Linked DNA regions of Homo sapiens: all the other regions are linked to region 3. Evidence: promoter capture Hi-C in 16 types of primary human blood cells and fetal thymus (Javierre and others, 2016). All regions are on one chromosome and are shown on one strand. The core of a region is centred on a gene start or on the middle of the fragment in contact, and the rest is flanking DNA. Distances in the headings are between cores, read along the strand shown.

Region 1 (4,030 bases), core at 740-3,239, 3.7 Mb after region 3:
TATAAAACTGAATTGCATTTTAAGCAACAATAATGTATTGAGTCTCAGTGTGTCAAGTACTAGGGGCACAGTGATGAACAAGATTAAAGACTGTCTTGGTTCCTCTTCCAAAGTTAGGAGACAGCAAAAACAAACAAGTGAACTGGCAAAAAAACAAAAAACAAACTGCAAGTTGCAAAATGTTCTACCGAAGGAAAAAACAACCTGGTAATAGAGAACAGTGCAAAAAGCAGCTCACTTGAAGATAGGCTTCTCTGAAAAGCTTTCTTTAAGCTAAGACTTAAAGGAACAGAAAGAGCTAGGCATGTAGCTGGGAAATGAACATTCCATGAAGATGGAAAAGTATATACAAAGTTTCAGTGGGTCTAGAGAGTGGAAAGAAGGTGCCAGAAGGAGGCTGGGGCCAGGTCATTTAAGGCTTTGTAGACCAGATTAAAGAGTTTGAATTTCTTTCTGAGTTCAGGGAAAAGTTATTGAAGGGACAGTTTTAAGCAAAGAGTGGCTTTCTAGGTTTTTGTTCTGAAAAACTCAGTTCTGCTTCAGCATAGAGAAAGGAGTGCAGTAAGTGAAAAGATACGAGTTAGGAGTAGTTTGTGGTGATAGGTTGGTGTAAGGTGATAGCACCAAAGCAGGTGAGAAAGGAATAGATTCAATATGTATTTCAGCATTTGAATCAACAGAATTGTAAGGTTGTCTGGGGAAGGACAGCCAGAGGGAGGAGGAGAAAGAGGAATCAAGGATAACTACTTAGGTCTGGCTGGAGCCCCTAGCTGTATGGTAGTCGCCTTTATCCAGATGGGGTGTGCTGAAGTTGAAGTGTGTCCAGAATTGGTTCCTTCCAGTGGGTTATTGGTCTCGCTGACTTCAAGAATGAAGCCGTGGACCCTCGCAGTGAGTGTGACAGTTCTTAAAGATGGTATGTCCGGAGTTTGTTCCTTCAGATGTTCAGATGTGTCCGGAGTTTCTTCCTTCCAGTGGGTTCGTGGTCTTGCTGACTTCAGGAGTGAAGCTGCAGACCTTCGCAGTGAGTGTTACAGCTCTTAAAGGTGGCATGTCCAGAGTTGTTTGTTCCTCCCAGTGGGTTCGTGGTCTTGCTGATTTCAGAAATGAAGCCGCAGACTTCCACAGTGAGTGTTAACAGCTCATAATGGTAATGCAGACCCAAAGACTGAGCAGCAGCAAGATTTATTAAGAGTGAAAGAATAAAGCTTCTGCAGCTTGGAAGGGGACTCAAGTGGGTTGCTGCTGCTGGCTCGGGTGGACAGTTTTTATTCCCTTATTTGGCCCCACCCACATCCTGCTGATTGGTCGCTTTTACAGACAGCTGATTGGTCCATTTTACAGAGTGCAGATTGGTGCATTTACAATCCTTTAGCTAGACATAGAGCGCTGATTGGTGCGTTTTTACAGAGTGCTGATTGGTGCGTTTACAATCCTTTAGCTAGACACAGAGCGCTGATTGGTGCATTTTTACAGAGTGCTGATTGGTGCGTTTACAATCCTTTAGCTAGACACAGAGCGCTGATTGGTGCATTTTTACAGAGTGCTGATTGGTGCATTTACAGTCCTTTAGCTACACACAGAGCGCTAATTGGTGCGTTTTTACAGAGTGCTGATTGGTGCATTTGCAGTCCTCTAGCTAGACAGAAAAGTTCTCCAAGTCCCCACTTGACCCAGAAAGTCCAGCTGGCTTCATCTCTCAATCCACCCTCTAAACAGGACACCTCAACTGCTGCTGGGAATTTGGCGATGACGGCTCTAGCTACTTCCTGCTGGATAGGGGTGAAGAAGGGGCCCTGCAGTTGTAGTGTCCTCCAGAGGGGAACTCTTTAGACCAGTGAAAGGGCCAGTGGGTCCGTCCAGGGGTCCTCGGTAGAAGTTGTTAGTTGAGCTCGTTTGGCTACAGTATATAGTCCTATCACAAAGAGTATGGTTAGTATGCTGCTAGAAAATATGATGAAATAGTAAAAGGATTCCATTAAAGGGGTAAAGAGAGGTGTTAAAGATTATGTAGGTTTTCACTTATATTTTTTAAGGAGGAATGGGTTTTTCCTCAGGATCAGAGGTAAGAGCCTTTTTAGTCTGGGATGTTTCCTTCCAAAATAGGAGATGCAAGTCCTCCAATGGTTCGCAGGTGTATCGAGGCTGGTCTGGCTGATCTTGGGACTCCTGAGCTGATGGTCCCGCAGGTTCCTCCGGGGGTGTCCAAAATTTAACTGGGGTGTGGTGAATCCAAGATTCCACTCCTGCCATCTTAACTGCAGTGGGGGTAGAGAGGATTACCGAGTATGGTCCTTCCCACAAAGAATCTATAGATGGGGAGGTAGAGGGGAGAGATTTGACTAACACTGGATCTCCTGGTTGAAACAACTCTGTTCCCTTTTCTCTGTGACATCCTTCAGGTAGGTTTTTAAGGTTTCGTTGATATTTTGCCAAAGAAGTTATATTTTTGACCAAGTTGGCCATTTCCTGATCAAGTAGGAGTTCATTTGTGAGAAAAGTTCTTCCATACAGCATTTCATAGGGACTGAGCCCCATTTTGTGAGGACAATTTTGGATTCTCAACAAGGCCATGGGCAAAAGAGTAGGCCATGGGAGATGAGTTTCTTGTGTTAGTTTTCTTAAGTGCCTCTTGAGTGTTTCATTTGCCTTCTCGACCTTCCCTCAGGATTGTGGCCTCCAGGCACAGTGAAGGTGATATTGTATCCCTAGCTCCCTGGAAATGTCCCTGAGTTATCATGGCTTTAAAAGCCAGATCATTGTTGCTCTGTAAGCTTTGGGGAAGCCCAAATCTAGGAATTATTTCATAAATTAGGACTTTAATCACTGCCTGAGCCTTCTCTGTCTTGCAGGGGAAAGCTTCTATCCAATTTGTAAAGGTATCAACACAGACCGACAAGTATTGAAATCCCTTTGACTTAGGCATATGGGTGAAGTCTAATTGCCAGTCCTCTCTGGGATAGTGACCTACTCTTTGTTCCCCAAAAGAGGCCTTAGGATGAACTAAGGGATTATTCCTTTGGCACACCCCTCACAGGCTTTGACTACCTGTCGGATGGCCTGGAGGAGATTTGGCCCTGTAAATAGGGATTTGGCCATTTGATGCGTGTTTTCAATACCCATGTGAACAGTTTCGTGGAGGGTTTTAAGTATTTTCCACTGGCTGGCTTTGGGTATAAGTACCTTTCCTTCTTCTGTCGTTAACCACGCCGAGGGGAGAAAACTATGCCCCCGTGAAAGTCCCCACTCTGTTTCGGTTGGGGAATACTGGAGCTTAACCTCTTGGAGGGGGTTGTTCCATACCAAGGGTCCTTCCGTAGGTATTTCTAATGGGATGTTCTGCCTGGCAGCAATTTTAGCCTCAGCATCTGCCCAACGGTTTCCTTCTGCCTTTTCTCCTTCACCTTTCCGATGGCTTTGGCAATGTAAGACTGCCACCTCCTTGGGTTTTTACACTGTGTGTAGTAACTCCATAATTTCCTTGTGGTATTTAACGGGAGTTCCCCCAGAGGTTAGGAACTCCCTTTCTTTCCATATTGCAGCATGGGCATGTAGGATTAGATAAGCATACTTACTATCTGTAACAAAGTCTCCCAATCACAACTGAGGAGGTAGGAGAAATACCTGGTTACAGGCTGTCCCAGGATTCCTTGGATGGTAACGGACCTTGAGGACAACTCCCTGAGACAGGAGATTAACACTGAGAAAGCCACACCAGTGTCCAGGAGGAAGTCAATTTCCTGGCCCTCAATGGTTAAACATGCCCAGGGCTCAGTGAGGGTGATGACATGAGCTGGCACTTGCCCCCGGCACCCTGAGTCCTGTTGTTGGGTCAGCTGGTTGGGGGCTTCTGGCTCAGAGAACGTTTGTTCTCTGGGGCAGTGCACCTTCCAGTGATTGCCCTGGCATAGCAGACATGGACAAGCGGGCAGCTTGTTTCTCGTTGGACAATCTTTTTTAAGGTGTCCTTGCAAACCACACTGGTAACAAGCCCCACCGGGTGATTGGCCTGCTCCATTTTATGTCCTCT
Region 2 (3,836 bases), core at 634-3,133, 3.6 Mb after region 3:
TTTACAACCAAAAAAACCTGAGGCTTTCCAAGGATATCCTGCTAGAGTCCAAGGTTGCCACACTACTGAAAAATAAAGACTATACCCTAGTTCTGTCTCATCCTATATTGTTACGGTACTGAAAGGAACACAGAGAAAAGCCACCTGATCATTAGTGAGGTCAGAAAAGCCTTCTAAGTAAAAGTAACACCTACGGTAAACCTTCAAAAGTAATATACTGAAATTAGGCAAAGAAAGGAGAGAGAGTAAGGCATCCTGGCCTGAAGAAATAACATCTGTGAATTATTGTGATATTGTAATTTCCATGAAGAGAGAAACACAGGTCTTAGTGCCTTTGTCTTTAATAATAAAGTAGATTGAAATTTAACTGTCTGAATTTGTTACTAAAATATAAATATACACCCCTCTAGAAACAATGACAGAATGAGTTAATATGTGATATAACTCAATCAGGCAATGCAAATAATCAGCATGAAGGAATTACCTATAAGCACAAGACTGACGAACATCTAGTATTCCAGATTTTAACAAAAGAGATATGATTGCCTATAAACAACTTTTCCCATTTGTAGTATATAATTAAATAACTTATGTGGCAATTAAATTACATGCCAATTAAACAGAATTGCAAGTGCTAACATAACAAGTTAAAACAAGTGGAAGTTATTACTGAAACACATCAATTGCTTTTTTCTACTAAGTTGAATTGACATTTAAAAAATTAACACTGACCTATGTTATGCACTTTCAGTATTTAGAATGTGAGTTAGGCTGTTAAAAGTTTTAAAGGTAAAAAATTGAAAAAGGGTAAAAGAAGTAGATTCTTGTTTCACCTAAATAAAATAATAAACAAAAATAATTTTTAATAGATTGGTTTTACTTATTTTTTAATTCCTTTTTTTCTCTGAATAATCAAAAATAAGCTTTACTTTGAAGTAAGATGGCAGGTGCCCAGAGCTAAGCTTTGATTGCACATAAAACCAGCTTTTTCATACTTGATCCAAATGTCAAATGTCAAATTTCTACTTTACAGTTAATGTACAAACATGTATATATACACCTCTGTGTGTTCTTCTGTGATACAATTTAAATTTCAGATTAAATGTGTATACATACATATGTATGTATATATATACACACACATACATACACAAATATATTAACTTTTATTTAAAGTTCAGGGGTATATGTGCAGGTTTGTTACATAGGTAAACTTATGTCCTACAGGTTTGTTGTACAGATTATTTCATTGCCCAGGTATTGAGCCTAGTTCCCATTATTTTTTCTGACCCTCTCCCTCCTCCCACCCTCCATACTCTGACAAGCCCCAGTGTGTGTTGTTCCCCTCTGTGTCCATGTGTTCTTATTATTAACTCCCACTTATAAGGGAGAACGTGTGGTATTTGGTTTTCTGATCTTATGTTAGTTTGCTAAGGATAATGGCCTCCAGCTCCATCCATGTCCCTGCAAAGGACATGATCTCATTCTTTTTTATAGATGCACAGTATTCTGTGGTGTATATGTACCACATTTTCTTTATCCATTCTATCATTGATGAGCATTTAGGTTGATTCCACATCTTTGCTTATTGTGAATAGTGCTGCAGTAAACATATGTGTGCATGTGTCTATAATGGAATGATTTATATTCCTTTAGGTATATACCCAGTAATGGGATTGCTGGGTCAAATGATATTTCTATCTTTAGGTCTTTGAGGAATCACCATACTGTCTTCCACAAAGGTTGAACTGATCTACACTCCCACCAACACTGTATAAGCATTCCCTTTCTCCACAACCTCACCAGCATCTGTTATCTTTTGACTTTTTTTTTGGGGGGGGGGGTGGGGGAAGGAGTCTTGCTCTGTTGCCAGACTAGAGTGCAGTGGTGTGATCTTGACTCACTGCAACCTCCACCTCTCGGGTTCATGCGATTCTCCTGCCTCAGCCTCCTGAGTAGCTGGGATTACAGGCATCCGCCACCACGCCCAGCAAATTTTTTGTATTTTTAGTGGAGACGGGGTTTCACCATGTTGACCAGGCTGGTCTTGAACTCCTGATCTCATGTTATCCACCCGTGTCAGCCTCTGACTGGTGTGAGATGGTATCTCATTGTGGTTTTGCTTTGGATTTCTCTAATGATCAGTGACATATTAATCCTGAGAGAGAAAATTGTACAGGTAGGAAAACCTGGCCTGTTATAATCTTTCACTCATCAAACTTGAGTGCCTGGGGTATGCTAGGTCTTATCCATCATCTCAAGTTGCTTAAATTCTAGGGCAAAAAAAGTTAAAATTAAAATGAAAATATTCATTCCTCCTGATAAGCAACTGCACGAGTTTTACCTAGTCCATCTTTTTGTCTATTGTGAGGTTTATAGCAATTCCCTTTCCATCATGACTGGAGTGACATCTGATGAATAGCTGCTCCCACATTTCACTAACCTTCCAAGGGGAAAGATGCCTATCTCATCTTCTAAATACTGCACACAAAGACATACACAGATCATCCTAAAACTAATCAAATGATTAATTTTCAAATTTACTCAGAGAAAAGGTAATAAATGGAAATAAATGGCATGAGCAGAACTAGAGGCAGGAGAGTGCTGGGTTTGAAGGGCAAATTGGAGGGGGAGGCAGAACAGCACCTGCTCCTTATGATTGGCTACATCTACAATATACGAAGTAGTGAAAAAGCTGGAAGTTGAAGGTAGATTACAAGTTCCATCCAGGGCTAGGTTTCAATGAGTGACTTTTGAAGAAGGATGGTGATTCAAGATAATTGAGGGTACTTTAGTGACCAACTTAAGCTTGGTGGGATGTGAGAGCTGCTTAGGGCCTTTGGACTGAGATTGGCAATGAAAGATCAAATGAAGAGAGGGACTGAATGAGGTCAAAGAGCAGGGAAAATTGAAATGAGGGAAAATGATTGATACAGTCTGAATGTTTGCATGCCCCCCAAATTTACAGGTACAAGCACCTAGCGCCAAGGTGATGGTACTAGGAGGTGGGGTCTTTGGGAGGTGATTAGGTCATGAGTACCCAGAGAGCTAGCTCTGCCCTTCCACCATGTGAGGACACAATGAGAAGGCACCATCCATGAACCAGAAAGCACATCCTTGCCAGACACTGAATCTGTCGGACCCTTGATCTCGTATTTCCCAGCTTCCAGAACTGTTAGGAATAAATCTCTGTTGTTTAGAAGCCACCCAGTCTAAGGGACTTTGTTATAACAGCCCAAATGGACTAAGAACATGATTTTAATATCCACAACATTTTTTTTTTTTTTTTGAGATGGAGTCTCGCTCTGTCACCCAGGCTGGAGTGCAGTGGCATGATCTCAGCTCACTGCAACCTCCTTCTCCCAGGTTCAAGTGATTCTCCTGCCTCAGCCTCCTGAGTAGCTGGGACTACAGGCACATGCCACCATGCCTGGCTAATTTTTTTTTTTTTTTTGTATTTTTAGTAGAGACAGGGTTTCACTGTGTTAGCCAGGATGTTCTCAATCTCCTGACCCCGTGATCCGCTCGCCTCAGCCTCCTGAAGTGCTGGGATTACAGGTGTGAGCCACTGTGCCCCACCCACAAATGTATTTCAGAGGTTAATTTAAACACCATCTGGAAGCTCTGGAAGCTCTGCCCTAGAACCTGATTTCCTCCCTCTCTAATGAGTTTAGAAAGGTGTGCAACCTAATTTCTAGTCCTCACCACCTGGGGGTTAACGGGTAGGGCAAATGAGGCCACAGAAATAGTAATAATGCAAATTCTATTATTCAGTGACCCCAGTGCCTGGTTCAGGGTATAGAGTTCCCTGAAAAATCTTCTCCAAGTATTTCTGG
Region 3 (4,276 bases), core at 1,408-3,907:
TAAGAGCTGTAATATAAACAAGTAGTGGCCAGATCTATTATTTTGGAAGAAAGAGCAGACAATAATTTAAAAAACATACGTTTTACATTGCCAGTCATTAGCACTAAATAGGCCTCGGCTCTTTTCTGCAAGTGTCTTTCCTATTTCAGTGCCCCCAGCTTTCATCATCTTGGCCTCAGTTGTTTTCTCTGAAAACAGAAAAATCATGCAATATGAACCTGGAGAAATAAATAAATGATACATATACAGTATAAATAGAATCTTCTTTAAATACTTACCCCGACCACATCGATTACAGCTGGTTCTTCTAGCAAAGTTTACATTTCCACATCTAAAAACAGATTAAAAAGCATTTATAAAAATTTAAATTTGTAAAATTTTACATTTTAACTTGTCCTCACTACATATCTGGAATTCATAACTTCTAATCCATCTTAGTCATGTTAATGTCAATGTTACCAACAAAAAACTCCACACAATTTACTGGGGGAAAAATACTTGATTGGAGCCACAAATTCAGAATAAGATATCCCAATCCTCCATTTACCAGTCATGTGATCTTGATTAAGTTACTTAGGATCTCTGCCTCAAGTCCTCACATTAGCACATATCATTAGTTATAATCCCTTTACAAAGTTGAAAGTGAGAGTTAACTCCACTTCACTAATTACTTACAAGCTACCAGGGAGTTTTAAACCCTAGCGGTGGACCAATGAGGAAAAAAACTTATAAATCAAGGAGGGCTTCATGGATCTTAATGAAATTATCTTTTTACATGCAGTAGGTAGGATGCTAAGGAACCAAATATGATAGGTTGTACTGACTAAAAATACAAAAAGATTCAATAATTGTAAGAAAACTGAGTTTTACAGGGCATTTCTCAAACCTCTGAGACTTCGCTGAAAAAAATGACACAACCACCAAAACCAATAATCTCAACACATGTAGTACAGTAAGACTTTATGCTTATACTCAACAAACTCAAACCTAAAGAATTACTGGTTCACTCACATGACCTTAGAAGTGTACGTGTATATTGGTAAAAGTATGTTAAATGCTCTGGATAACATGGAATGCTTAAACTTTAAAAAGCTGATTTTTAAGGCATTATACTAGAATACAATACAGATGTGAAGTATGGGATGACACTAAAGTGAAACACTCTAAATAATATTTAGGTTAAGTTTTTCCCCTAAAAATATTCCTTTTAACTCCATTAAGCATGGAAAATATACTCTGAAAATTTATCCTGCATTTAAACATATTGTACAAACAACATTCTATTCATATATTTGTAAATGAGTTGAAATGAACTCTCATTGAGAGTCCTACCTCTGGGTGTGCTGTCATTAAAGACACTGACAAAAGCACATTATTTTACAGGTAACAACAAAGTCAGAAGTTGTTGTTCTAAATCTTTTGAACGTTTTCAATAATGTCTTACCACTCAGAGCAATACTATCCATAACATATAACTTTGGTTCTATTCAGTATCATTTGTTAGGCTTGAACTACTCCTTCAGGTCATCTTAATATCAAATTACTATCAATAGCCACCAATTAGAATTTGCTACACGTCACTGTTTACACACCCTATCCATGTTATTTCATGTTTTCATTAAAAAAAAAATTCTATTCCTTTTTTAGCAGTTAAATAAGTAATAGAATTTTAACTAAACCCAGGTTTATTTCAAAGTTTTTGCTTTTTACAATCAAAACCTATTTGTGGCTAACTTAGGTACAACAAATAAAAGGCTTTTATGTGAACATGAGTTGTACATTAAATTATTTTCCATGTTATTTCCGAATAGATACACCTATTTGTGCACCCTTCAAAAAAAATCTGATTAACTATCTAGTCGAGTACTGGCTTTGGCAACAATGTCAAAAAGCAGAGCCACTAACACACGTGCTTCTCTGCTGCAGGCATCTTAAGGGCTGAGTAGGCAAAAACACAGGCCTCTTCCCTCCTTTTCGGCTCTAAGGAGGCGAAAAGCCCAATTCTTGTGGAGAAATGATCCACAAAGAAAATGTCAGAATTTCCCAAACCGAAGAGGGTAGAGCTTCCGGAAAAGGGGAAAATAGTATGGAGGAAAAGTTTGAGTAAAAATACAAAACAAGGTGAACTATAAGAGGCAAAAGGACGAGTGCGAGAAAGCAATATTTTCCGTGAACAAGAGTAAAGTTCTGCAGAGAAAAGTCACGTGGGGGAGATCCAACACCAAGCTGGCCTGACTGGAGAGGTTTCCTATCGCTAAAACCTGGCCGGGGCGGGGGAGGGGGGTGGGGGCAAAAAGGTAGGCCATCTCGCACTCTAAAAAGAGAGGCTACCTTGCGGAGGTAATGTCGAGGAAACGCTGAAGACATATCTAGAACAAAGGCTCCCGGAAAGACCTCTCTCGTGAGGAGATTGGGAGCCTTCTTCCCGCCAGGGAACTGGCGGTTCGCCGCCTCAACCCGTCTTAAGGCACAGAAAATCATAAAAAAGGAAAATGCCGGACGGACCTCGGAAAGCTTCCACTAACAAACTCCGTCCCAATTCAGGACCCTTCTTGAACTCACTTTTTGTCAGGGCAAATCCAGTCCCCGTCACTGACTCGGAAATTCTTGGTCGACATCTTGAACGCCACCAGCACAGCCACCCGCAGCTATGTCTTCACAGGAGGAAAACGGGCCGGGGACTTTCGGCAACTCGGGGCTGTCCCCACACTGCCTGACTCGCGCCTACTACTGTGTCAGGGTTTGATAATGAGGGAACTAGCCAGGAATTCAGCTTGTACGTTGTTGTCCAGACTAAGATGCCTGTGCTACTGTTTGTTAGATGGAAAAGTTAAAATACAAATATCTTTTCTAGAACTAAACTCACAGGCGCCATAAGGACAACCCAGGCAGGAGGCCTTCGTGGCACTAGAAGCCTCGGAGAGCCCCCTACAGGTGGGAGGACCCAAGAGTAAAGTACTTCCGCTTCCTTAGGTGGAGCTGGAAAGGTGGAGGCGGAAGTGACTGATCAATTCAGGGGCGTGGGGTTCGTTTAGGGTAAGAGGCGGCTCGGGCTCTTCAAGTGTTTAGAGAAATTATTTTAATAAGGCATAAAAATTCTGTTATTTCATACACATGGGATGTCGTTTGGAAACCTATTTTTATATATACATAAATAGGTGTAACAGATAAGTAAGCAACTTATACATGGGAACCAGCTGGTAATTTTAAAACTGAGACATTGTCAACACTGTTTAAATTACCAGTGTCTTTTCTGATACCATCCCATTACTTTCTTCCACAGATAACACTTTCCCATATTTGGGATTTATTCTTTTGCTTTTTAAAAATTTATGTACGTTGTTAGTCCAAACTGCACCATTTTTGTAAGCCCCCCTGCCATTTTGCAGACCTTAGTCAAAGTGAAACATTCCACGGGGTTCGGGCGTGAGAAACAGGCTGCCTCTTATACTCTGCTGGGAGAAAGTACCACATTCCACTGGAACAAGGGCCAGAGCCGCCTCGTCCTGGGAACACCTTATCAACATGTTCCCAGGAAGCAGGCCATGGCCCCCCAGACCACTCCCACCCAGGCCTATAAATCACCCCAGCCTGTAAGAAGCAACGGGCACTGGCATTAAGCTGGTCTCCCACCTCTGTAGGTCTTATGCTGGACATAAATCCTGTATTTGTTGTTAAGCCACCCTCTCTTTCTTTAATCCTTGCCTTCCCTTCAAAACCTAACATACATGTATGTTTAATTTTATGAGCTGTGTAAGCATAGTTGATTCTGTACTCTTTTTTTGTTCATTATGCTTCTAAATTAATCCTAGGTAGTTGCATGTAGAAGTGTATAGGTGTAATTCTTTTATTTGCACTGATGTATACTGATACTATTCCGTTTTGTGGTTTTGTGACAGTTTATTCCTTCTGTTTCTCAGGCTTGGTATTACAAACAACACCAGTATGAGCATTCTTATGCATAGATTCTGGTATATAAATGCATTAATTTTTTTTAGAATACAGCATATACAGTCATGCCTCACTTAATGATAGGGATATGTTCTGAGAAATGCCACTTTCGGCAATTGTGCTGTTGTGTGAACATCATAGAATGTGCTTACACAGGCCTAGCAGGTATAGCCTACTACACACCTAGGCTATATGGTATAGCCTATTGCTCCTAGACTACAAACCTGCATTTAGTACATCTTATTGTACTAAATACTGTAGGCAGTTGTAACGCAGTGGTATTTGTGTATCTAAATATAAAGGTACAGTAAAAATATGGTATTGT
Region 4 (4,261 bases), core at 1,532-4,031, 3.6 Mb after region 3:
CTAGGGTGGGGGAAAATCTCCGCCCTGGTAAATTTGTGGTCAGACCATTTCTCTGCTCTCAAACCCTGTTTTCTGTTGTTTAAGACGTTTATCAAGACAATATGTGCACCACTGAACATAGACCCTTATCAGTAGTTCTGCTTTTGCCCTTTGCCTTGTGATCTTTGTTGGACCCTTATCATTAGCTCTGTTTTTGTCCTTTACCTTGTGATCTTTGTTGGACCTTTATCAGTAGTTCTGCTTTTGCCCTTTGCCTTGTGATCTTTGTTGGACCCTTATCAGTAGTTCTGCTTTTGCCCTTTGTCCTGTTCCCTCAGAAGCATTTGATCTTTGTTCTGCTTTTTGCCCTTTGAAGCATATGATCTTTGTACCTACTGTCTGTTATTACACCCCCTTCCCTTTTGAAACCCTTAATAAAAAACTTGCTGGTTTGAGACTCAGGTGGGCATCACAGTCCTACCAATATGTGATGTCACCCTGGTGGCCCAGCTGTAAAATTCCTCTCTTTATACTGTCTCTCTTTATTTCTCAGCTGGCCGACACTCATGGAAAATATAAAGAATCTATGTTGAAATATTGGGGGCGGGTTCCCCCAATAAGTCCTCAAATTCCTTATCTGTAAAAATGAGGGTAACTAAAAACCAGCATGAGTGGGAAGATTTAATAAGGTAGTTCATATAAAACACTAGAATGGAGCCTGGCACATCGTATGCACATAATAAATATTTAGTTCTAACACAATTTTCATTTCCGAATACATGCATCTCTAGATTGGATGCACCATCCGGCAATACCATTTATTCAGCACACATTTGTTGAGTTTTATTTTGTTCTGAACACTGTCCTAAGTGAAGGGATCAGAGAAATTAATACAATATGGTGCCTACTTTTCAGGAGCTTACCATTTAAGTGCAAAGTATTTGTTGCCATCTTAACACCTTTCCTGAAGAGTACCATGAAACATACTCTTGCATTAAATCACAAATTTCCCTTTTCCCCATAGGCTTGGAACTAATGGAACTTCAGAAAAATTTGACTTCAGTTTCTGAAATCTTAATCATGCACAGTTTAATCAATAGCTACATTTTTCTCACATTTTAAAATAGATTATTAAATGGTCTAATCAGATTCTAACTAGCCAAAAACTTGAAAAACATAGGAAGACAACCATGACTGACATATTTATTTTCCCAAATGCAAACATACTGCAAACATCAGCTGCTGAAAAATAGTGCTATTTGCATCTTACGTAGCATCTTACATGACCCACAGATAACTAAAAATTGCACAGGAGTTCAGCATCAAAATGTTAAAAAGTACCTAAATTAAATTCAACTTGAGATAAAACAAAAAGTTTATGTAATCATAGCTATATCACTTTTCTAAAAGTTCTGAAACTGATTTCCAACGTGGCACCTTATATGGCTTTAGTTTTTTCAAACATTTTCATTTACGCCATTACACTCAGAGAATTCATTAAAAAGTAAAATCTTGAAGTTTGGGTATAAGTTCCAACACAACGACTAATGTGGTACTTCAAACATCACAAACTCCAAATGATCTCAAATATGTTGTCCTCTGCTAATTTGCTGCTCCTAAAAATGTGCAATAAATGCAATTAAAAAGGAAAGTGCCTTCAATTTAATTGCAAGATTGACTAGGATATTTATCTTCTTACTAGATGTATCATAATAAAAAATCGTCTAATATGCATTACATTGTTTAATTCAGGAGGAAATTGGATATTCTCCCTTCCAATAAAAAAAGAAACTTTTTTTTTTTGCAACAGCCAATAATGACGGTGTTCTTTCTAGAATACATTGAAAATTGCCAAAATAGGTTATCTAAGGGGTTCACCTACCTAAAGCAACTGAAGATCATGAGTAAATACACAGGCACACAACTCCTCCCTCTCTTTTCCTGTGCCATATAACCTTCCTTTATTAAAATACTTTTTAAAGACCCTTATGGTCCTTTTGAGATTGGGCAGAAAAAAATCCCTGAAATAATACCCCCTTTTCCCAATGAAACATCTTTCAATACTGAATGAACTCACACCTCGCTTATATGTAAGCTAAGGTGAGAATGCATCTCTCATTCTCAAATCTCCAAACGAATTCTTATTTTGGTAACCTCTTCTTTTGCATCTAAACACACATGTTCCACACCACAGGATCTTCTTGATCCCAGCGAAGGTCCTTGCTTAATGTATGCGTTTTTCACTTCCATTTTTTAATCCTTCCAGGGTGAAAATTTCAAAAGGGGCGAACGTGGGTGAAAGAAACGAAGAAGGGGAGGGAGGAGACATGATGCCTGGGATTTCTGCCATCCTCGCTGCAACCCAGAATTCGTATATATTTTCCTCTCCCCAGCCCTCCCCCTCGCTCCCCTCTCGCCCCTTCCCTCCGCAGCAGGAGGGAGGAGGAGGGGCAGCTGGCTGAAGCCGCCACCTGCCACAGCGTGGAAAAGCTCCAGTTGTCACTTACCCAGCGGGGTGAGAATGGCTCATTTTTGCAGGATCCCTTTTGGACCCCGCGGCAGGTGCGGAGGGTGGGTGCGTGGGGCCCCGTGCGCGCTGGCGCTGCGACAGTCGCGCTCGAGGGGTGGCTCCGCACCGAGGTCCCCTGTGCGCGGGCACCTGGGCTGGGCCGCCGCCGCCCCTGGGCGCCCGGGCTACCCGCAGCCTCCCGGGCTCCCACCCTCCGTTGGTATCCACAGCTTCCCTGTTGCTAAGGGAGGAGAGAGGCAAGCGCCCAGGGTCTGGAGAAGCGGAGGCGCTACTGGAACCGAGCCTGCGGAAGCTGGAAGTGAAGCCAGCTTCTACCCCTTTTTCTGGGCCCTGATAGGGAGGAGACCCAAGCAAGCCCCTGCTCTGTTGCTCTAGGGCGCGAGTTCCCCAGGTATCTGTAACATGAAAACACAAACACACTCGTGCACACACACAGGCACACCCACACATTTTGGCTGGCGTGCTTCCTGCTAGGCCCTGGGGAAGGAAGGACTGGGTAGCGGCTGAGGGTAATAAGAGCAGGGAGCAGCTACTGCGTGATGCGGTGGTTTCCAGTGCTAAAACAGCGATTGCAAATTTGAGGGAAAGAAGGACGTCTCTCAATCTGTTTTGGGTTTTGAATTTGTTTCTGCATCTGTAAGGCATTACAATCGACTCATTTTCTCCTTGGAAAACCCCTATCCTTCTTCCTAGCTGAGGTCCCCACTTCCAGTGGGCAGGGCTGACAGAGCTGGCTTTCAGAAGATGGGGGAGACGCAGTTATTCAGTAAAGCACCCAGAAACAGTACTTACATTGGAATCCAGTACATGGAATGCAGGGCTTAGATGAAGCAGCCTGGATTTAAAGGAGGATCTGAATGTGGAGGAAGTTTAAGCACTAGACTTAGATAACCTATTCTTGTTTTGTTCATGCTTGGTCAGGTGTTTTGCAGAATGACTTGATCTCTGGCCTCAGGTTCCTCATGTATAAGTGAAGGGTTGGACGCATCAGTGGTGACTGAGCTTTCTAGGGTCTCTATTCTGGGTCAGCCACATTTAGAGGTGGGAAGAGCATCACCTCATTAACGTCATTCTGCTTTTCCTCACGTGGTAAAGACCCACTGAGTATGACAGAGTTCAAACTCCTTAGTGTGACATTCAGGGGCCCTCATCACCTGGCCCCAGTGTCTTTCCCGAGCCTGTGTGACCACTTTCTCCACTACCTTAAACTCTAGCAAAACCAAACTCTTGCGCTATCCCTCTAGTGGAAACATACTTTCACCCTTGACTACTTGGAAAACTTCTATTCATCCTGTAACACTTAGCTTAAACACTTCCTCTTTGACATCCTCAGGTGTGCTAATGACTCTGGCCTCAGGGGGCCACTCGGCTGGGATATGCCTGTTTTGTGCTTACCCCCTGTATAACACTTGCTGAAGTAGATGCTGCCTTTTCTACTCAAATGCAAGCTCCTCCATTTCATTTTGTACATCTATTCCATTTTTCTATATTCTCAGAAGGAAGCAACAGTTTAATAAATGTTTGCAGCATGAGTGAAGGGAAAAAAGGAAACTCTTGAGTGGTGGCATTTGTAACGAGTTGTTACTAAATGCTCTCCTCAGCCTTTTATTGAGCATTTACTATCTCATTTAATCCTCATCTTCATTTTATGAGACAGGTTTTTTTCTCCATTTCATAGCTATCAAAACTAATACATAAAGAAATTAGTTATTTTTTCTGACATCTACAGTGGCTTCCAATGGGAAAAACTAG
Region 5 (4,081 bases), core at 444-2,943, 3.4 Mb before region 3:
TTTGACATGTCTGAGTTTTGGAAATTATGCTAAGTGTCTTTTCATTAAACTTGGAGAAGAATGAAGGGCAATGCTCATATCATAGGTGACAACCTGAGAAAAAGTAAATTGCAGAGCACTGTAAAAACCCAGTGTTTAAGGACTCCTCATAGCTAGAACCAAATAAATTAGGATTTCCCCTGTGGTTAGATTTAAGGCAAATACAGCTTCAGGATCACAGATGGACTTGTTTTGATAGTTTACATAAAAGATATAAATCCAAACTTATAAAATGGAGTAGAGGGTCCAGTTGCTAGGGATAATTAGGGACACGCCAAATTAACCAAACTTAATTCAGATGGTCATTAAACAGTGACCCCACCTGGTTTTCAGTCGTTTTACCATCTGTTGTAGCTCCTTCTTCTCAGATGGGAGAGGTCTCACTAGCTCCCAGGTGTGACCTGTTTATTAAGACACAGTGCCAAATCATACTCCATAGCATTTGGTAACCAGACAATAAATTAAGGTTAATAAGGCAAGTTGTAACATAACTTCAACTGACCTATGGAAACAGATTGAAATGTTTGAAAATTGATATCAAAGCAGAGGAACATGAATGTTTTTTAAATTCTTTAGACACATTATCTGGTGATTGAATTTTTAAGGCCCAGAAAAATAACTTTTTTTGTGGTAAGGTAAGGTATTTGAGGTTTCTCAGTGACTGCGAAAAATATAGAGTAATTATAGAATAATAAAATTATTAAGTAAAAAATGTTAGAGCTGGAAGGGTCTTAGGGAACCAGACATTTCCCATTGTGACCAATATGCATGGCTCAGAGGCTATGGGGTGTATTGCAGGAGGGGAGTGAGGGGGAGCCTAAACTTGCCAATCCCTGCCCTTCACCCCCACTGCTATCCGGCTACTGCAGCCACAACACTTCCACTTTTATCTATCTATATGTGGGGATTATGCCTACTGTGGATTTTGGGGAAAGGGAGTTCTTTTCAAAATTAAAAAGAGTTCACAAATATTTGTCAAATGAGGAAACTGAGGAATGGCGAGGGTAAACAACCTGCTAAAGATTCTATCATTCAAGCCACATTCTTGGAGGGACATCACATTAGATTTATTATTGTTACTATGTCTGCAAAGTAGCCACATAGTTCTTAATTTTACAGCATCATTTCAAAACTTCCATAAATACAGACCAGATATACAATATAAACAAATAAGCTTATAAACTGGCCTTCTTGTATTTGATGGCGATGCTTTCCTAAAATAGGGAGGACGGCTTGCCAAGAGGGAGTCTCCAGCTGAGAAAGCAAAATCTCTGACACATTTCTGCTTAGTGGACAATGATACTAATAAGATTGCCCCCTCCTATATCTTAAGGGAATGAGCTGGAACATATGGCAAAAATCCTTACAGGTCAACAACAGAATGTTAAACACAATCCATCACTTTGCCACAAACTGATATGGTCCACAAAGCACAGAAGTAAAGTGTTCATAATGGATAGCCAGATAGCAGACTATTCACTACATTCTTTGGTTACTGAAAATGAGGCTACTTTGGACCTTTACATACAAAGTCTCATGGGAGCCAGAAAGACTACTGTCACACAAACATGGCTGTGGCCCACATCTAAGACCAGCTATACAGAAATGAGCACTCCAAAAGACCATGTCCCAGACCCTCTTCAAAACATCACAGTCTTACAGAGCTTGATCCTAAATGATCTTGTTTTAATATTTAATATCTTCCAGACTTTGAGACTGACATTTTATTGCCAAAGTACATGAGGACCAAACCAAAATAAAAGAATGCATATTATTCAAAGAACAAAAAAAACTTATAAGCTATTTCAAAGAATAAGTTTTACTGGCAGAAATTTCCAGTTAATCAGGATTAAATGCTTACAAGCACTAAAGCCAGAGAGAGAGGTAGAAGTTCAAATAGTAGTAAAGAATGCTCTTATTCTCTTTTATTTCTTTTTCTTTCATTCTCAGTCTCCTAAATACTACTTTATTTCCTTAATTTCATCTCCAATTGTGTTTCTTGTATGTTGCTTCCGCAACATAACCCATCTTTGCTTTCAAATCTCCCACTTCAAAACTGACCTTCATAAAACCTTTCAGAGTTGTTTTCCTCATCATTATAATCTCTTTGTGCTACATTGAAAGAACAAGACTTGAAGCTTGGCAATTAAGCACCTTTTAATCTATTGGGTATTATATGTGTATACAGTACAGGTCAAAATCCTTAGCTTACAAAATGGGCCAGTTTATAACCCCTGAAAAAATTATAAGAAAAACAGTTGGACGGGGGTGGAGGAACTATGAGAATAATATGAATGCAGATAAGGGTGCACAATCCTCTGTAACTAAAACAATACAAGTAGTTTTCTGATGTCTTGGAGGACTGAAAAAAAAATACAAGCCCCAAAACAGTATTTGATCAAGACACCTTCCTTTCTAATATACAAAAAAGACAACAAATTATATAACTCTTATGTTCTAATTCATCAATTATATATTAAAATCTGTGTACCTTATTCATTCAATAATATCTGATTTAACAAATATTTATTGGTGGATCATGAGGTCAGGAGATCGAGACCATCCTGGCTAACATGGTGAAACCCCATCTCTACTAAAAATACAAAAAAAATTAGCAAGGCATGGTGGCGGGCACCTGTAGTCCCAGCTACTCGGGAGGCTGAGGCAGGAGAATGGCGTGAACCTGGGAGGTGGCGGATCTTGCAGTGAGCCGAGATCACGCCACTGGACTCCAGCTTGGGCGACAGAGTGAGACTCCATCTCAAAAAAAAAAAAAAACCACAAAACAAATATTTATTAAGAGTCCACTCTGTATAAGGCACTGTTCTAGTCACTTAGGGACCAATCAGTGAACAAAACAAAATTCTACCCCATATTTTTGGATAGTGGAGTGGGCAGGAGGAGAATCAGATAACAAACAATATATATAAGTAAAATATATATGTTTGAAGGTGATTGTGACATGATCTTTTAAAAAAACAGGATTTAAGAGATTAGTGGTGCCAGGGAGTAGAGGTATTGCAACTCAACTAGAGTGAGCAGGGTATGGCTCATTAGGAAGGGGGCTGGAAGGCAATGAGCAATGTGGTATCAGGAGAAAAAACATTCCAAGCTTACAGTCAGCACAAAGGCCCTGAGGCAAAAGGAAGTCCAATATGGCTAGAGAGAAATGAGCATGGGGGGAACAGTGTAAGATAAGATTGCTGTAGGGATCAGATTTTTATAACAGCTTTATTGATATAATTCACATTCTGTACACACCCTAAATATTTTATTCAATGGGTTTTACTATATTAACTGATTTGTACAATTGTCACCATTGTCAATATTAGGACATTTTCATCATGGGCACAGATTTTATATGGTATTTTAAGCCATAGTAAGGACTAGGGGTTTTTCTCTGAGTAAAAAGAAAAGCCATTGATAACTTTGGGTTAAGGAATTGACTGGGATCTGACTTACTATTTACAGGATCACTTCGGCTGCTGGAGGTGAAGGGAGGAAAGGCAAAAGCAGAGGGAGACCAGTTGTTACATTTTCCTAGGTGGGAGATGATGCTGGTGGTAGTGGTGATGAGAAATGGTTGAATTATTTTACATTTTGAAATGGAGCCTATAGGATTTACTGATGGACTGGATGTGGTTGTGAGAAAAAGGAATCAAGAATGACACCAAGGTGTGGGGGGCTGAACAGTGGGAAGAATGGAGTTGCCATTGACCTATTGTAGGCACAGATTTGGCCAGACAATCAGGAGAGCAACAATTGTCATTTTAAGTTTAAGATGCTTACTATATATTGATGCAGATATGATGAATAAGCGCTGAGGTTCAGAAGAGATGACTGACCAGGTTTGAAATATATTTGGGAGTCATCAGCATATAAATAATTAAGGCCATGGGACCATATGAGGTCACCAAGAGAGTGAGTACAGAGAAGAGGTATAAGCATGAGCTGTTAAGAAGTTAGGAAGAAGAAAACTTTGCAATGAAGTTGATGGGTGAATAGAATTGTTTCTTTTATTTCAGAGAGAGAAAACTCACAA
Region 6 (3,976 bases), core at 1,061-3,560, 3.7 Mb before region 3:
ATTCCAGCCTACATGACAGAGCAAGACCTTGTCTCAAAATAAAGTGTATGAGGGAGTGCTCACTTTGGCAGCATATATACTAAAAGTGGAACAATACAAAGATTATTAGCATGATCCCCACAAGGATGACACGCAAAACTGTAAATTGTTCTATATTTTAAATTAAAAAATAGAAACAATAAAAAATAAAGTATAGGGAAAACGTGTTTAGGCTATATGCAGATACTATGCCATTTTATATAATGGACATGAGCATCTGAAAATTTTAATATCTCTGGGTCCTGGAACGAATCCCCTGCAGATACCAAGAAACTGTACTGGGATAAAGTCAGGGCAGGGGGATCCTTTTTTTTTTTCTTTTTTCCTTTTTTTGAAACAGTCTTGCTCTGTCAACTAGGTTGGAATGCAGTGATGCTATCTTGGCTCACTGCAACCTCTGCCTCCTGGGCTCAAGTGATCCTCTCCCGCCTCAGCCTCCCAGGTAACTGAGACCACAGGTGCACGCAACCACATCCAGATAATTTTTATATTTTTTGTAGAAACAGGGTTTTGCCATGTTACCCAGGCTGGTCTCAAACTTTTAACTCAACAATCTGCCCACCTCAGCCTCCCGAAGTGCTGGGATTACAGGTGTAAGCCACTGTGTCCGACCTTTTTTCTAGAGCACTCAGACAATGAGGAGCAGAAAACAGAAACTCTGAGCTCTGTCAATAACACGGTAACACAGTTCTCCATTTGTAAATAGTTTCTTCCTTCCCCTTAACTACCTCACATTTGTCACGAGAATGAAGACATGTGAAAGTTAAAGTGTTGTTTTTTTTTTTTTTTTTTTTTTTTGAGACAGTCTTGCTCTGTTGCCCAGGCTGGAGTGCAGTGGTGTGATCTCAGCTCACTGCAACCTCTGCCTCCTGTGTTAAAGTGATTCTCCTGCCTCAGCCTCCTGAGTAGCTGGGATTACAGGCATGCACCACCACACCAGGCTAATTTTGTATCTTTAGTAGAGACGGGGTTTCTCCATGTTGGTCAGACTGGTCTTGAACTCCCGACCTCAGGTGATCCGCCCGCCTCAGTCTCCCAAAAGTGCTGGGATTACAGGTGTGAGCCACTGCGCCTGGCTGAAACCACGTGTTCTAATGCAGTTTTTTTTCTACAGGACTTAAAAAAGACAATGTCCTCATTTACTACTCATATGAAGTAAATGTTAAAAATCATCTCTAAACCTAAAAAAACTTTTAATCTTTTTAACCTCCATTTTATTTTAAAATGTTTCCAAGTTTGTCTTATAGCCATTTTGCAGTTTAAAAAATTATGCTTATTGGCTGGGCATGGTGGCACACGCCTATAATCCCAGCACTTTGGGAGGCTGAGGCAGGCGGGGATCACTGAGGCCAGGAGTTTGAGACCAGCCTGGCCAACATGATGAAACCTCATCTCTACTAAAAACACAAACATTATCCGGGCATGGTGGCGAGTGTCCGTAATCCCAGCTACTGAGGAGGTTGAGACACAAGAACTGTTTGAATCCGGGAGGTGGAGGTTGCGGTAAGCAGAGATGGTGCCACTGCATTCCAGCCTGGGCGACAGAGCCAGATTCTGTCTCAAAAAAAAAAAATAAAAATAACTAATACCTTATTGAAAGGGTTTGCCCTCACAATATTTTAATTTAACTTTACCTTAGGATGATAAAACTCAGTCTGGATTTCTGGCACAGCCCAATTTATGATATGAATAAATCAAACACAAATGTCAAAAGGTTAAAGGAAGCTGATAGAGAAAATGAATTTAGGAGAAGAAATAATATAGTTAGGGCTTGTATGAGTTTTTAAAGCCAAACAGGAAGCCGCACTGAAACATTCCTCTAAGAACACACCCCAAAGCTTAAACGGAAGCTACCAAATCAAAAGCCATCAATGTGACTTTCTCCAATACAGTTGACCCTTGAACAACGTGGCTTTGAACATTCTGCCTCTGTCAGTCTTGAGACAAGCAAGCCCAATCCCTTTTCTTCCTATCCAAAATAAAGACCTTTGTGATGATCCAGTTCCACTTAATGAACAGTAAATATATTTTCTCAACATTTTCTTTAGCTTACTTTACTGTAAAAACACAGTATATAATACGCAACATACAAAATGTGTTAACTGGTTATGTTATCACTAAGACTTTCAGTCAACAGGTTATTAGTAGTTAAGTTTTGGGAGAGTCAAAGGTTACATGTGCATTGATCTGCGGGGTCAGTGCCCCTAGCATCCTCATGTTGTTCAACAAGTCAACTGTATTTTCACTAGTTTCCATGTTTCTTAAGTAAAACCCACATATACTTTGGTTTTTAAAGTCGTCATTCCTTAGACAAAATGCACATTGCCATTTACTGAGTGTCCTGGCCATTATATATGGTATAGGCAGACAGTTTCAAAAGTTGAATTCTAAATGAAGTCACTTACATTTTAGGTTAAACCATATGAAAATGTCAAGATTTCAACCTAACACCATAATACCACAGCCCTTTAATGATCCCCAGTTTGGCAAGATTTCAAAAATACAACCACAACTTTGAAAAGAACTATCATATTTCTGAACACCAATAACTACAAGATACTCCACTAACAGCTTTTTAGGAAAAAGTAACTCTACCACATAAAACATAATTACAAATTGATCAAAGGACTAAATTTCTTAGAATATGTGATAATACAGTTTATTTTCCTTATAAAGCAAATTATCTGCCCCAAATGATCCTATGTAAAGCTTTAACAGACAAATAACCCATGTGAAATTTTAAAACAAAAATTATAAATACAATTCAAGTCACATCTGAACATTTTCAAACACGACAAAACTTAATTTTACCTCTTCACTCTTTGATTTATGAAGAACAAATCCCTTCTTCCACTGCCCATCAGCACCTTCATTTGGTTTTCGGATATTAAATTCTACTTTTGCCCGGTCCTTATTTTGAATAGCCTTCCACTCATCCAAAGTCATCTCTTTTGGACCCTCCTCTTTTACCTCTTCAACTTCATTCTCCCTGTGAAAAGGTTTTCAAGTTTTATACCTGGTAGAGAGCTGATATTACATAAAAGTATTTTAAATTTATGATTTTAATTGAGAAAATTAACCTTGTAATCTTTTAGAGAAAGATTATTCAAGGATGAGGGTACCCTAGTTTCCTATGTAACTAAGCAACTTGGTAGAGACCAGGAATTCAGTGTTTGCTAATTAGAGACAAGTAAGGAATATGGAATTCATACTTATGAACTCTTAAATGATCATTTATCAGTAATACAATCTAGAACTGGCTTTACGAATACTAAAATACACATTTCTTAAAAACACTACCTTGTTTAAAAACTACCCTCTTATGTAAAATCCTCAGCCTATCTTCTCCTAAACCACATTTTTAATTTCCATAATTCCCACAATATGTAACTCTTAATAACATACAAGAAGGTAATCCTCTAGGATGTCTGTCAGCAACCAGGGTTCAAATTTTGGAATATAAAAGAACTGTTCCTCTATGCTTTGTTTCAGCAACTAGCACTTAGAGCAAATCAAAACAATAGCCGTGTTTCTACAAATCCTAAAATCCTTATACTCCAATTTTCAAACCAACCTGTATATGGAAAGGAGGCCATGGATTCACTACTAATAGAACTATCCACAAACACACACTGGTTTCATTATTTAATACTAAACCATTTATTTCCAAATATAATTCTCAGGTCTTAACTATAGAATATGATCCTTTCCTCTTTTTACAGAAACAAAGCACAGGCCTAAGGATCCATTATTTTAGTATAATCTCAATCTGCAATTGTCACCAAACAAGTCATTTGCTATTTGGGGAGCCCTGCTTCTTTCCAAAGATAGCAGGTGATTCAGTTAGCCTTAGAGCTCAAATATCTCCCTGGATGCTGCCCTTTACTGTTTGACAAATGCTATCTTAAAAGTTCCTCCAGTTACATCTATGCTGCAA
Region 7 (3,836 bases), core at 880-3,379, 3.6 Mb after region 3:
CAAACTTGGCACTATCAACATTTTGGGCCAGATAATTATTTGCTGTGGGAGACTATCCCATGTATTGAAGGATATCTACTCTCTAGATGCCAGAACCCCTTCCCCAAGTTGTGACAACCAAATATGTCTTCAGACATTGCCAAATGTCCCAGAGCGGAAGGAGAAATGATGCAAAATCACCCGCTACTCATAACCAGTGATTTACAGGGAGGACCGGGTTCGGCAAGAAAAGAATTAAGATGAAAAATAATGATAGAAACAGATTAAAGCTGTAACAGACTTCCAGGCCTGAAGTGGACCTTAAAGATTGTATGGCACATGGGAATAACGAGGCTGGACTCAGCCAGGTTATGGCAGGAATTTGTTTAACTGAAACAAACAAATACATGAAACTCACTGTCTGATGGAGGAGAGAGACATCCAATTAGATAAAACACAACCCACTATGGGGTGGGCACAATTAATTTTCTATTTTAATTTTCAAATTTAAATAAAAGACCTCTAATAAAACCACACTTTAAAAAGCTAACGTAACTACATCTCCTTGTGTTCTAACTGCTTTAAAAGGGCACTCAATAGCTCTTTTAAAAAGGCACTGTTTATTCTATTCTTGTCAACAATTATACCAGCAATGATCCTTCAACAGATTATGCACCATTATGTGTCAACTATTTTTCTTCTACTTATTTTGCTAACACTAAAATAGGGCACTCCTCACCAACATATCTGGATAATAGCTGTGTTCATAAATTCCACACCATTTTAAACACACAACATAATCCCAAAGGAATTCGAATTAAATGAGGACAGAAAGTACAAACAGAAGCAAGGCAAAACCCAGTACTGTTTCCCTCTGATAGGACAGGGAGGATCAGAAGCACTTCACACACCAGGTCACCAGCCTATCCCTGCCAGCTGAGGATTTAACAAACTCAGCCAGCTCAGAGAACAGTGTGGATTTTACCTTAAAAAAAAATCATGGTGAAGCAACTGGGCTTTTTACAAGAGGGTAAAGGGAATATAAAGAGATTTTCTTTAAACTCTTCTCTCCCCTTCCTACTGAAATCTTTCCCTTCTGCACAGAGCACTAAGTTAGCTCTCTGAAAGCCAGGGTAATTTAAATAAATGTATGTGTTTGACAGACCCTTTAGTTACTTAGGGTTAAATTTAATTTAACCCAAAAATAGCCTCTTCAGTGAAGTTAAACAGTGGGAGTTTTGGACAAGGTATATCTGTCATATTGTCTCAAGCCCCATAAAGACAATCCTAGTGTTTTTTCATAAATTGTTTGATCTGTGAAATCCTTTAGAATTGATCTATTTGAAGTGTAGGAAGCTAGGTGTGAAACCTCGTGATTCATCTACCTAAAGAAACAGAGAGACAAAAAGGACTGAAATTACCTGGGCACTTTTAAAGGTAAATTCACATTTTCAGGATACCACTCATTATTCAGGGGACTATGTGCCATTTAATAGGTTACTTCTTTCAATCCACTCTCCAGAATACACAGTGCTCTGAAATGGTTAACAGCCTCCTCAAAGTAAGCATCTAGCCCCAGGCCTTTTATTTTTAAAATGCAAAATCTTATCTCCAAAATTTCCAAAGCATCCAGTGACAGAGTTCATGTGGATTTCTTGTTAAATTCTAACTGCAGAGCTCTAACTTTTCCCTCTAAGCTCCTGAGAGGCAGATTGGCAGCTAGTTTCTCGAAGAGGTTTCTGACAGCCCTGCATTGGGTGATTTCATTGAAGGGCTTATTTTAAGTTCTGAGTCCTCCTCCCCCATTCCCCCACATTAGCATTTTCAGCCATGGGTTGTGGTGTTAAGGACAGGGCTGTATACGTGCACTCCATGGATGTCATCAAAGTGCAGCAGGCAAGCAGCAGAAGGGAGATAGAAGGACTAAGAATTCACAGTGTGGCTTTACCGTGCTGTCTGGGGCAACATAGGTAAGCTTTAATGAGCCTTAGTTTCCTTATCTAAGGGAATATGGAATTAATATCAACCTTAAAGAACTGTTTAAAATTCTAAATAAATATTTTTATAACATATGCTACTTGAAGGCAAAAACAAGGCCAGTTTATCTTAGTCTACACCCAATACAGGTGGAAAATCTAACATATTTTTGAAGGGGTGCTCTGTTGAGTTTATTAACCAAGAAATGCTAAACTAATGACAAAACATCACCTTCAGAAGACCAAAATCAAAAGTTTTACTACATAAAGAAAAAAAGCACCTTTGACTCTATTTATAAATCTGACTTTTAAAAATGACCAAAGGAACTATAATGTGAAACCCATAAACCCAAGCTTGTTTCAAAATACATTAAAAAAAATACTTACTCCTCCACTTGCCCCATGAACCAGAACACTCTCTCCAGCTTTCACACAGGCACTGCAAAGGAAAGCATAAGTTACATCACCTTATTTTTTGAAGCTAATTAATCTCGGGTGTTTTCATCATCTTAAGGAATTTCTACCCCTAGTCTGGCTAACACTTACACAAACAGCAAATGCAACCTGACATACAGCCCCAAATATTCCCTAAGCTCCACAGAATAAACAAAGCCTTCAATTCATTTATTCCTTGAACAAATATTTATTGGGAGTCTTTATGTTCCAGGCACTATGCTGCTGGACACTGGGATGACTATGTGGTGCTACTTCTGAGTGGCTACAGTCCTTGTGGGTTGTGAAGTAAAATTGCTGAGCCTGGAGGATCTGGAATCTCTCATTCCCATATATCCCCCACAGAAAGGGCCTCAAAGCAGGTTTATTATATAGCTCAGTCTTTATTCTGTGGTCTAGAGTAATGTCCAAGTAAACACAGTAGCTATTTTTTTTGCCCAAGGAAAGAAAGAAATTTTTCTTCTCCATGTCTCTGAACATCAGGTTGCACCAGCCTTGTACTCTTTCAGGGAGGAATGCTGAGTTAGCAAAGGTCAGAGAGTAGGAAATGCAATAAATTCTATCACAAAGATTCCCATGTCATCCCCCTGAAATGTCCAGATTCTCTGGTGAAATGGCATTTTCTTTTTACTTCCAGTTCACATGACTACTTTTCTAGTATGTACTGAAAAGAAGGGACATGCAGCAAGGCATGAGGGGATGCCTCACTATTCCAGATGGACGGTGCCAATGTCAAAAGCCAGCAGATGCTGTGAGATCCAGATCTGACTCTCAGGAAGGCTCTCTTACTTCCTCAAACAATGTGGGGTGGCCACACTGCAGAGACATTATAGAACATTATGCTCCACCTGGGAAAGAGAACAGTAACCAGAGTCCTGCTCCCAGCTATGCACCAACAGCTGAGAAGTGGCAACAATGAGCAATAAGTGAAGCTTTCTCCCACACTCTTGCTTAGAGCTGAAGGGACTGAGGACAATATGTTAAAGTAAAACATAAACATAAGGGGATAGGATGACTAGTGTTAAACTATGGGATATGAAATACCTCCCAAAGAAATTTTTCAAAAATTCTTATAAGATGCCCCTCAAACACTAAAGACACATTCTCATAAATCCCTGGGGCCTGGGGTGAGGGGAGAAAAAGCAGGCAAATCCCCTCCTGAATCCTTGCACAGAGTCGCTGTGACAGTTAATTTTATGTGTCAACTTGACTGGGCCAAGGAACCCAATATTTGTTCCAACATTACTCTGTTACAGAAACAGTGTTTTTTTTTTTTTTTCGAATGAGATTAACAATGGAATAGCTGGATTTTGAGTAAAGCAGATGACCCTCTAGAATGTGGGTGGGCCTCATCCAATCAGTTGAAGGCTTTTGTTTTCAAAGACTGACCTCCGATGAGCAAGAGTAAATTCAGCCAGCAAACTTTCT

What was found. Contacts are between HindIII fragments. The CHiCAGO score rates a contact against its expected background, and 5 or more counts as called.
Region 1: a fragment that was not itself captured here is called in contact with the fragment with the promoter of ZRANB2 in region 3 in 3 of 17 cell types (activated CD4 T cells, total CD4 T cells and total B cells); the score reaches 8.9 in activated CD4 T cells.
Region 2: a contact is called between a fragment that was not itself captured here and the fragment with the promoter of ZRANB2 in region 3, in 9 of 17 cell types (total B cells, naive CD8 T cells, naive B cells and 6 more). The highest score is 29.8, in total B cells.
Region 4: a contact is called between the fragment with the promoter of ERICH3 here and the fragment with the promoter of ZRANB2 in region 3, in 1 of 17 cell types (total B cells). The highest score is 6.3, in total B cells.
Region 5: a contact is called between a fragment that was not itself captured here and the fragment with the promoter of ZRANB2 in region 3, in 2 of 17 cell types (total CD8 T cells and activated CD4 T cells). The highest score is 7.3, in total CD8 T cells.
Region 6: a fragment that was not itself captured here is called in contact with the fragment with the promoter of ZRANB2 in region 3 in 4 of 17 cell types (total B cells, total CD8 T cells, total CD4 T cells and 1 more); the score reaches 10.6 in total B cells.
Region 7: a contact is called between a fragment that was not itself captured here and the fragment with the promoter of ZRANB2 in region 3, in 8 of 17 cell types (activated CD4 T cells, total CD8 T cells, naive CD8 T cells and 5 more). The highest score is 15.4, in activated CD4 T cells.

The regions. Positions count from the first base shown.
Region 1 is chr1:74,739,216-74,743,245 of GRCh38, forward strand. The region is part of intron 3 of TYW3 (tRNA-yW synthesizing protein 3 homolog); the gene reads left to right. Among named protein-coding and RNA genes, the nearest start is that of TYW3, 8.1 kb to the left of the region's middle. The HindIII fragment of the contact is 1,566 bases long and covers 1,207-2,772 here.
Region 2 is chr1:74,694,061-74,697,896 of GRCh38, forward strand. No RefSeq gene overlaps it. Among named protein-coding and RNA genes, the nearest start is that of ERICH3, 22 kb to the left of the region's middle. The HindIII fragment of the contact is 1,846 bases long and covers 961-2,806 here.
Region 3 is chr1:71,078,378-71,082,653 of GRCh38, forward strand. ZRANB2 (zinc finger RANBP2-type containing 2) reads right to left here and starts at 2,658. Exons shown (of 10, transcript NM_203350.3): 1 at 2,563-2,658; 2 at 279-331; 3 at 80-188. The coding sequence starts at 2,618. It overlaps ZRANB2-DT (ZRANB2 divergent transcript), which reads left to right and starts at 2,947. Exons shown (of 4, transcript NR_046217.1): 1 at 2,947-3,036. RefSeq lists an enhancer at 2,608-2,897. The HindIII fragment of the contact is 3,322 bases long and covers 2,513-4,276 here.
Region 4 is chr1:74,671,011-74,675,271 of GRCh38, forward strand. It overlaps ERICH3 (glutamate rich 3), which reads right to left and starts at 2,782. Exons shown (of 15, transcript NM_001002912.5): 1 at 2,487-2,782. The coding sequence starts at 2,509. The HindIII fragment of the contact is 21,395 bases long and covers 1-4,261 here.
Region 5 is chr1:67,676,776-67,680,856 of GRCh38, forward strand. No RefSeq gene overlaps it. Among named protein-coding and RNA genes, the nearest start is that of GADD45A, 6.4 kb to the right of the region's middle. The HindIII fragment of the contact is 964 bases long and covers 1,212-2,175 here.
Region 6 is chr1:67,417,159-67,421,134 of GRCh38, forward strand. SERBP1 (SERPINE1 mRNA binding protein 1) reads right to left here. Exons shown (of 8, transcript NM_001018069.2): 6 at 2,851-3,028. It also overlaps the pseudogene RNU6-387P. Among named protein-coding and RNA genes, the nearest start is that of SERBP1, 11 kb to the right of the region's middle. The HindIII fragment of the contact is 871 bases long and covers 1,876-2,746 here.
Region 7 is chr1:74,712,237-74,716,072 of GRCh38, forward strand. CRYZ (crystallin zeta) reads right to left here. Exons shown (of 9, transcript NM_001889.4): 5 at 2,343-2,394. Among named protein-coding and RNA genes, the nearest start is that of CRYZ, 19 kb to the right of the region's middle. The HindIII fragment of the contact is 355 bases long and covers 1,953-2,307 here.